Linked DNA regions of Homo sapiens: region 2 is linked to region 1. The links are contacts of gene promoters, found by promoter capture Hi-C in blood cells and fetal thymus (Javierre and others, 2016). All regions are on one chromosome and are shown on one strand. The core of a region is centred on a gene start or on the middle of the fragment in contact, and the rest is flanking DNA. Distances in the headings are between cores, read along the strand shown. Region 1 holds the start of MTCH1 (mitochondrial carrier 1). Region 2 holds the start of CPNE5 (copine 5).

Region 1 (4,379 bases), core at 1,275-3,774:
GACAGTCTGTCATCTTAAAATCTCCGACTCCCAAACCTGACAGCCACATGCACTAATCTAAGGCACTGCATTCTTACGCACCTAATCTAGACAATCCCCAAATCTGTCACTCCACTCCTGACACCCCCACTCCCAGTAATTTGCCTTTCTGCAAGTTATTACTCTGATTCCCAAACTATACCCATTGAAGATCTTACCCTAATATATGTTACACTCAACACCAGCTGGGTTCAAATCAGACAGGCACCTCTGGTCCTTCAACAGGGCTCATCCATCCTTACCTGCCCACCATCTAGTTCTTCTCACGCTTTGGTGTCCTTCATTCCCCCATTCCCTTCCCAAACCACCCTCATTTCAATGTTCTTTCAAACCAGATCTGCCATCATCCAAATGATGAAGCCACTTCTTCATTTCCCTCACACTGAGCCCTTGTGCTCCAGTATCCTTCACTCCACAGACTCTCCCACCTGTGCCCTAAAATCCTAGCCCTCACTCAGTCTCATTCCATCAGTTTCCAGAACCCTCACTTCTCAGGTCCAAAGCACCAATTTATCTCCCAAACTTCAAGTTCAACTGCTGTAAATACAATCTTAACCCTGTAAGACAGCCCTCATTCCCAAATCACAACCAAATGCCAGTCTGGTCTACACCTTCCGCCATCAACAATTTTCAAATCTGTCACAATTAGGGTCTAGTCAGGCACCTTGATGCCCCTGACTGAATCTCCTCATTCCTTGTCATATTCCTGGTCACACCCACAAATCTATTACCATTCCTCGGATCCCAGATTTCAATTACTCTCATTCTCAAGGCCTTCTCATTCCAGTTGTATTTTGCATTCTCTCGGTTCAATTATAAAGATGGTAAAATCTGACACCCACCTGCCTCAACTCAAATCTTGGATGGGTCTCCAATTCAATTTTTACCTTCCTCCCCCCAAGCTTCTTAACTGGAAAATTCTGGCCTAATGACCCCCATCAAAACTGTACCCATCCCAGCCACACCCACCTAATTCTCACACCTCCACACGCCCTTCATTCCAGCTCACTCCTCAAGCAGCACACTTCATCTGTACCGCATTGCTGGCCACCACCAAATCTGCCAAGTGCCTATGCATCCCTCTGTTCCAGAGACATCCCTACCTCGGTCTCAATTTCTGGTAGTCCCTACCTATCCTGCCACCTATGTCTCCACTGTCCCTTCTGCCCAATTTCAATACTCCCGTGCCCCTTCTCCTCATCTGCCCAGATACAAGCACTGTGATTCCTCTCTCTGACCCCAACTATGACTTCCATTTCCTCCTCCAAATGCGTCATCCCCCTTCCCCGCTTAAAGCCTCCTCCTAGCTCCCCTCTCTAGACAAATCGCTGCCACTCCCCTCCCCCAATGCTGGCCCTATCTGTTCCCCTCCCCCCATACGCGTCACCCTGTCCCCTCCTCCTACCAAATCCGTCGTCGCCATCAAATCCAGAGCCCCCATCTCCGGTAAACCGATAGCATTCCCCTGCAAAAGTCTTTGCCTTCGCACTCTCCCACCAAATTAAATCACAATGCAACCCAAGACCTCCGTCTCCTCTGTCCACCCCCAGTCTGGTGTCCTTCTTTCCCTCCTAAATTTCTGGCCCTGGCGCCCACTTTGTCCCCACCCCAAGACGTTTTAAATCCATCTCTATCAAATCCAGAGCCTCCGTTCCCCTCTACCCCAATTATGTGCTCCTCATTCTCTAAACACTTTGCCTGGGCCCCCAACCTTCCTCCCCATCTCTTCACCCAAACTTCTTGCCCCTCCCCCAATTCTATTGCTTCTTCCCTCGCCCCAAATTCGCTCCCTTCCCTATCCCAAGTCCATCGTCCCCACTCCTTTATCTCCCAAATATGTTTTTCCAGCCCATCGCTCCCTCCTTGGCACTCCCCCAAATCGCTTGTTCCTTCCACCCTCTCCCGTATCTGTTATTACTCTAACCCCTTGGTCTCCTTTCTGTATCCTAAAACCCGTGACCCCTGCGTTCCCAACTCCCTCACGGCTTCCCTCCCATCCCACCCACTCGGCCCCCCAAACCCGCCGTCCCCACCCCTCTCCCCAAATCCGTCGCCATTGACTGCCCGCCCCAATCCTCCAAATCCTGGCCTGTCACCTTCACATCAGCCTCCCATCTCCCTACGGCGCCTCTGGTCCCCCACCTGGATGAGCAGCTTCACGTAGAGCAGGGGATGGCTGAGCGCCGTCACGCCCGCGCCCAGTGCCACGAAAAGAGCCTCAGTGGTCGGGGCGTTGTCCCCAGACCCCAGGCCCCCTGACCCGCCATCCATCCTGCGGGCCGAGGGCTGAGCCGCAGGCCGAGGGTGGCGAGGATGTGCGCGGTGCGCGGGCGGTGGATCGCGAGCTCGAGCCTCGACCCCCGCCGCCGCTCCGCCGCGAGCTCCGGCTCCAGCTCCGGCTCCCGCCATCCCCGCGGCACCGCCGCGAGCCCAGGGCGCCACTTCCGGGTCCGAAGCTCCCATGGCGCCCGGCGGCGAGGTCACTCCCCGTCACGTGACGGGGCCACGCCCCCTCACCGGCGTCAGGGGGCGGGGCCGGGGCGCACCACTCCAGGCCGCGGGGGAGCTCGGGAGCGTGGTGCGGCGGGTGGGACACGCCGGATGTGGCTCCCCGGCCGGTTGGAGGCCTAGCAGGACACTGGGCTGCGGGCCGGGGGTCAATGGTGGCGGGCAGCCGGGGCCCCGGGCTCGGGAGCTGTGGCGGCAGCCGCAGGCCGGGGCGCTCCCCCGGGATGCCCAGAGCACGCGGGGGCGGGGTTCGGCGCCTCTGGCTGCCAGACGTCCCCAATATGGTCTGAGGCGCTTCCAAGCCACCTCCCTGGCTTCGGGAGTTTTCTCTGCAGTTCTCTGCCCGCCCCTTTGCGGCCCAGATCCCAGTCGCCGCGGCCTGCGTGGAACTCTGCGCGAGCTGAATCTCCTGCTGCAGGACGAGCCCCGACCCCGAGCCCGATCCCCTCCGCGGTCCCAGCCTCTTTGTCCGATCGCATTTTCCATCTCCTCTGCCAGGAATGCTCTCCCAACCAGAGCAAATCCAGATGTCCCCTCGGCGACTGTGGGCACCCTCCCCAGCTGTGGAGCCTTCGCACGCCTTCCTCAGAGTCCGTGGTTGTAAAATTTGTTTTGCTCTAAAGTATTTGACTGTCTCCCTCACTAGATCCTGAGGGTTTTAGTGAGTGCCTCAGTGTGAGCACATGCAGGCACTGCTAGGCGCCTGTAGTTGATTCTTAGTTAATACAAGTGAATAATCACAACTAGACCTTAAATTGCAGGGACTATGTGACAGGCACTTTTTAAAATGCTTTATACGTGTTGATTTAAGTGTAATCGTCACAAGAACCCTGCGAGGAAGATAGGACAGCAAGTGCCCTGTTCCTGTTTGTAAACGTGCCCGACACTCTGCAACAACACCTACAACAGAACCGTGCTAGTTTTGGGGGTTCGCAATAAAAGTTTCTGTTTGAACGGATCCTAGAGTGTGCAGGGACACAGCAATGGAAGACCTGGTCCCTTTGTCTGTACTTAGTCTATAGCCAGTTCATTGTGAGAAATTTCTTTAGATCGACACCTGCCACTGTTAGTCCGGGTTTCCCAGTCTGTCCTTTCTAACTCCCTTCCTGCCTTACCCCCTAAAAAGCTACCTCCCCTCTTCCCACTCCTGATAATGAACACTATGTACTTTCCACGTTCAAAGCATGCCACACTCCCTCTCTCCCTCACCTTGGCCTCCCTAACCCAGGCTTGTCCTAGTGAAATCACTTGCAAAGCCTGCTAACCCTTTCAACTTGCTGTGTTTTCTCCATCAAACACAATTTTCATCAAACATCCCCCAGGAGCACCTTAAATGACTTCCTTTTGCCTAGGTTCTGATTTAGCTTTCTCAATAAGGACCTCAAAGTCAAGTTCCTAGTGCCACACTAACTCTCTACCCAGAAGAGGCGATAGGTTTTAGTTTGGGGGTGGGGGGTGGGGGTAGGGGAGGATGATTTACTTCCCCATCCTTCTGAAACTTCCTCACAGGAACCTTTTCCTTCTTTGGGCTTTTCGTCCCCATTTTTCTCCAACTGTCTGTTTTTCTTTCTGAACTTGGCTGTTCACCGTTGAGCCTTTTACTCTGCCTTACATGGTCACCTAACTTTGGGCCTATACTGTATTTGGCCCTTTCAAACTGTAGTTTCATGTGAAGCAGCAACTTTGTGTTGTCTTGCATTGTTTTGTATCTTCCACAACATCAGATATAGGACTATGCACATAGTACATGTTCAGTAAAGTATTTCTAAATGATCGAACAATTTCTCCAAGTGAAGAAATTGAAGGAAAAATAGATCAGCTAAACCAGTTAG
Region 2 (4,393 bases), core at 260-2,759, 150 kb before region 1:
CAGCAGAGTAATGACAAGATGCAAATGGCGTTGGGAGATGATCCTGACGGCATGGTGTATGGGACCTGGGAGCTATCACAGGAGCCCCCAGAGGGCCTGGCTTAGGGGGGAAGCTACGTTCAACCAGACTAGCCTTCACTGCCACTTATCCCCAAGTCTTCAAGAGAAAGTCACACTGAGTCCTTCCCTCCTTCACGCCCCTGCCCAGACTCTCCAGCTCTACCTACACCTCATCAATGCCACAACTTTGTAATACAGGACTGGGGGGCAACAAGGTTACCTCTCATGGAGGGTCTGACCAAGGAGCAACCTGGAAGAGGATGAGATGGGTGATTTCGAACAAGGGCACAGCCAGGGCTCCAGAAATGCTGTCGGTGATCTGGGGCAGGGGGCATGGCCTCTGTGGGGGAACCTCAAAGTGGGTGATGCTTGCGTGGCAGCACATGATCCTAGGCCAGCCACAGAGAGACTGAACTAGGGAAAAATCCCCCTTTGCCACCCATACCCTCTTACTGCCAGGGGCAGCCTTCCCCTAGCTAGGAGAACCTGGGGTCGACCCAGCTCTTAGACAGAGAAGTTACCCCCAAACCCTGTGTGACATGAGTGAAGATTTGGGCGTGGTAGCCCACAAAAATATTCCCCCTCCTCCTCTGTTGGACTCTACAGTTTCACAATCAGTGTTCTATTCCTTTGGCTTAAGATTTTTGACCCAAGTTATTTTTTTAATGGTGCCACTTTAAGTTGTTATCATGTATCCACACCTTAGTATGAATGAGTCAATCTGATCCTTTTCCAGGAGTCGATTTCGTTGTTGATAGAGATGAAGGAAGGCTTTAAAATCCTAGAGTCTAGGACAGTGGGGTGGGGGAGACTGGTGAGGGGAGGATCAGGATGCTGGGGCAAAGAAGGGGCAAAGAGAGAAGAGAGGAGGGCACAGAAGGGAGAGGGTGGACGAGCCTGGGAGGGATGGGGGCAAATCACTCACTTCGTGATTTGGGGATGGGGTGATCAGAGATAGCCTGAGCAGAGACCGTAGTACAGCCTTTTACCAACTCCCTCTCCCCACTTGGGTGCCTGGACCCCCTGTTCCTGTGTCTTCATATCTCCTCGATGCAACAGCCTGGAGCGCAAACTTTCTGGGATATGACCCCAGCCTGGCTTCCTATTCTGCCGTCGCCACCCGCAGCTGGACAGGACAGGGGCTCTTGGCAGATCGGCAGGGGCGCAGTCCTGGAGACCAGGACACTCTGGGAAGGGGGCGCGCGGAGGTTTAGGATCGAAGCGGCAGGGGCCGCGGGGCTCTGCGTCCAGGGCCGGGGCAAGGGGACCCGGCCAGCGGGAGGCTCACCTGCAGGACACGGTGATCTCCACCTTGGTGGCCGGGATGCTGCCCGCCAAGGAGTCGAACTCGCTCAGCGACGCCATGTCCTCAGGCTGCTCCATCGCCCACCGCACCCCCCACCCCAAATTAGTCAATCCCTGCGCGATTCACGCCTCCTCCGGAGCGACTGGAGCCCTGGGCTCTCCCCCAACTCCAGAGCCTGGGCTGGGCGGCAAGGGGAGGAGAGAGGAGCGCGAAGAGGGGGCGTGGGAAGTGAGAGAGGGAAGAGGGCGGAGGGAGCGGGGGCCGCGGATCGAGGAGGGGGCTCGGGTGACGCCGCGAGGAGGCTAGGGGCCCAGTGGGGAAGGGCAAGGAGCCCAGGGAGCGGGGGCACAGCGGGGAAGGCAGAGAGGGGCGCGGGGAGAGGGGCTCGGGGAGAGGGCACCGGGAGGGAAACGCGGAGTCGTGGAGAGGGGCACCAGGAGAGGGACGCGCGTCTGTGGGCAGAGGTAGAGGGGATGCAGAAGACAGGGAGAGGGGCGTGAGGAGCGGGAGGCGCCGGATGGGGCGCTGGCGGCGGGGGTGGCGGGGCGCCGGCAGCGCGGAGCCCGAGCGCCCGGGCTGCGCCGCCTCTCCCTGGGTCTTGGCGCCGGCGGCGACGGGGCTGAGACGCGGCTGCGAGCGCCACCTCCTCGGCTCGGGCTTCGGCTCCGGGGCGCCCGGGCTGCGGGAAAATCAAATCTGCCCGAAGCCGCAGCCTCCCGCCGCCCGGGAACGCCAGAGGGGGCGCCCGCAGGGGCCGGGGCGGGGCCGCGGGCGGGGTCTGCGCGCAGGGTGAGTGTGAGCGTGTGTGTGTGCGCGTGTGTGTGTGTGTGCGCGCGTGGCGGGCCGGGGGACGCGGTCCAGATGCTGGGGACGTGGCGGGTGACAGCAAGAGGTGGTCCTGGTCGCGCGCATCTTCATTTGCGCCCGCCCCCTCTCACCACCCCTATCTCCCATCAGGGGTCTCCATCCTGGGGGAGGGGGAGGGTTATGGGAACCAACGGGCGCCTTTTTGAGAAAGGTCTATGCAGGGTTGAGAGGGGGCATAAGTGGGAGGGAGGTGTGCAAAAAAGATCCCCTCCCAGGGGCTTGGGTGTGGAGGGTCTCTGCTGAGTGTGCGCCCTACTCGGGGGCGGGTCTCAGTTCAGAAACAGACCCTACATCTCCTTCTGGGGAGGTGTGTGGGGGCGACCCCAGTGCCAGGAGGGACTACCTCGGTTTCCCAGTGGCCCAGGTGGGGTCGGTGCATGGGCGCCTCCCCCATCCGTGGTTCCCGCCAGCCGCGGCCTCGCCAAGTCGGCTGCCGAAACCACGCGCCAGCGCCCTTCCACTCCCCCGCCCGTCGTGACCACACGACTGAGCCAGCCTCCAGGTCTAGAAGCTCCTGCCACCCAGTCTGGTGGCAACCAGACTGGGAGATCGGCCCGAGCTCCCTGGGCTTCTATGCAGCCAGCACCGAGTAGGCGCGTGCTGTGTGCCTGGCGAGCGAGGGGAGAGTTGGGACACCTCTCCTGCAGTCCTCTTCCCAGCCAAGCCCCTCGCGATCCCCCGCCCTAGCCCAGCCTTGCCCTCCCGGGCATGAGGTTGCAGCGCAGAGGCGTCTCCCTGAGTAAGGCTGCACACGTAGACTTGACTCTAGCCCATCCTCAGCCTCAGCCTAAGCTTTGCCGAGCTGGAACCTCCACTTCCTCGCCCACCGCCTGGCACATCGAAGCCGATGTGCCTCGGGCCGGCGGGGAGGCCAAAAACCTGGTGCTGGGCTGGGCAGAGTTGCGCTCTCTGGGCCTTGTTTGTGGCAGCGGGACCATAAGGGGCTCCTCCGGATTCTGTTTGAAGTCAATTCCTGGAACATCAGATACTGTCAGTCAAAGATAAATACAAGAACACATTCCTCTGCCTGTTACAATTTCCCCATGGCTCAGAATCAGCTGGACTGGGTTCTGCCTCCTGGAACAGGCAGCAAGGGACAGAGGCTGTTAATTCCCCTGACAGCCAGGCACAGCTGGGTCAGGAGGCCCCACTCCAAGGAGAATAATTCTGTCTTCCCTTCCTGAGGATGCAAAACTGAACTCGGAATCTCTATGTTCCCCATCCCCCACATACCTGGCATAAACAATGCTCAAAGCATGCTTGTGGAATATGTTCTCCATTCATTCCAGGAGTGTTTACTGAGCATCTGCTGTGTGCCTGGCCCAGTGACAGGGCCTTGGGAAACCTTGTTCATAACAATAATTAGCATCGTTTTATTTTCAAAGATCTGGGCCAGACACCATGCTTACTTTTTTTTTTTGAAATATTAGTCACATACCATAAAATTACCATTTTAAGTTGTATAAATCAGCGGTTTGTAGCATATTCACAGGGACCGTGCATGATTTTAAATTCTCAAAATAATTTTATAAGTGAGATATTATTACTTTTAATGGGAAAAGCTGCAGTTACTTTGCACCAACCTAATATTATCTACATTTAATAAGTAAGGAAGCCAGTGCCCAGAGAGGCTAAGTAACTTACTCATCATCACCCAGCTGGGGACTGGCATAGTGAGAATGTGAAACAAGGCAGTTGAGACCAAAGCCTGACTCTGAGCAAGAGGCTCCACTCTCTTTTAGGATAGGGCCAGACGATGGAAAATCATCCATGAAATGAGGCCTTGTTGGGAAAGGCAACAATAGGGAGCCATTGCAGGTTGTTGAGCAGGTGAGTAGTAAGATTGAAGTTCTACCCAGTAACCTTGCAAAGTGACAGCATTTGGAGTAGCAGCCCCAGGGTCTCTTGTAGACACTTGTCTGTGTCACTCCATTCCCTTTTAGTCGTTGCACTTTCACTGCTGGCTATTTGGCAAAAAAAAAAAAAAAAAAAAAGAAAAAGAAAAAAGAAAAGAAAAGAAAAGAAAAAGAAAAAAGAAAAAAATGTATATATATGACACATGCTGTGTGCTGGGTGCAGTCCTAGGCTCAGAGAATAAAAGGCAAAAAGGACACAGTATCTATCCCCAAAGAGTTCCCAGGCTACTGGGAGCCCCAGGAC

Evidence for each region. Contacts are between HindIII fragments. The CHiCAGO score rates a contact against its expected background, and 5 or more counts as called.
Region 2: a contact is called between the fragment with the promoter of CPNE5 here and the fragment with the promoter of MTCH1 in region 1, in 15 of 17 cell types (activated CD4 T cells, fetal thymus, monocytes and 12 more). The highest score is 10.8, in activated CD4 T cells.

The regions. Positions count from the first base shown.
Region 1 is chr6:36,983,672-36,988,050 of GRCh38, forward strand. MTCH1 (mitochondrial carrier 1) reads right to left here and starts at 2,525. Exons shown (of 12, transcript NM_001271641.2): 1 at 2,182-2,525. The coding sequence starts at 2,502. RefSeq lists enhancers at 2,079-2,801, 2,920-3,129 and a silencer at 2,240-2,829. The HindIII fragment of the contact is 16,171 bases long and covers 940-4,379 here.
Region 2 is chr6:36,837,935-36,842,327 of GRCh38, forward strand. CPNE5 (copine 5) reads right to left here and starts at 1,510. Exons shown (of 21, transcript NM_020939.2): 1 at 1,349-1,510. The coding sequence starts at 1,443. RefSeq lists a silencer at 1,974-2,183 and an enhancer at 2,868-3,418. The HindIII fragment of the contact is 11,867 bases long and covers 1-3,023 here.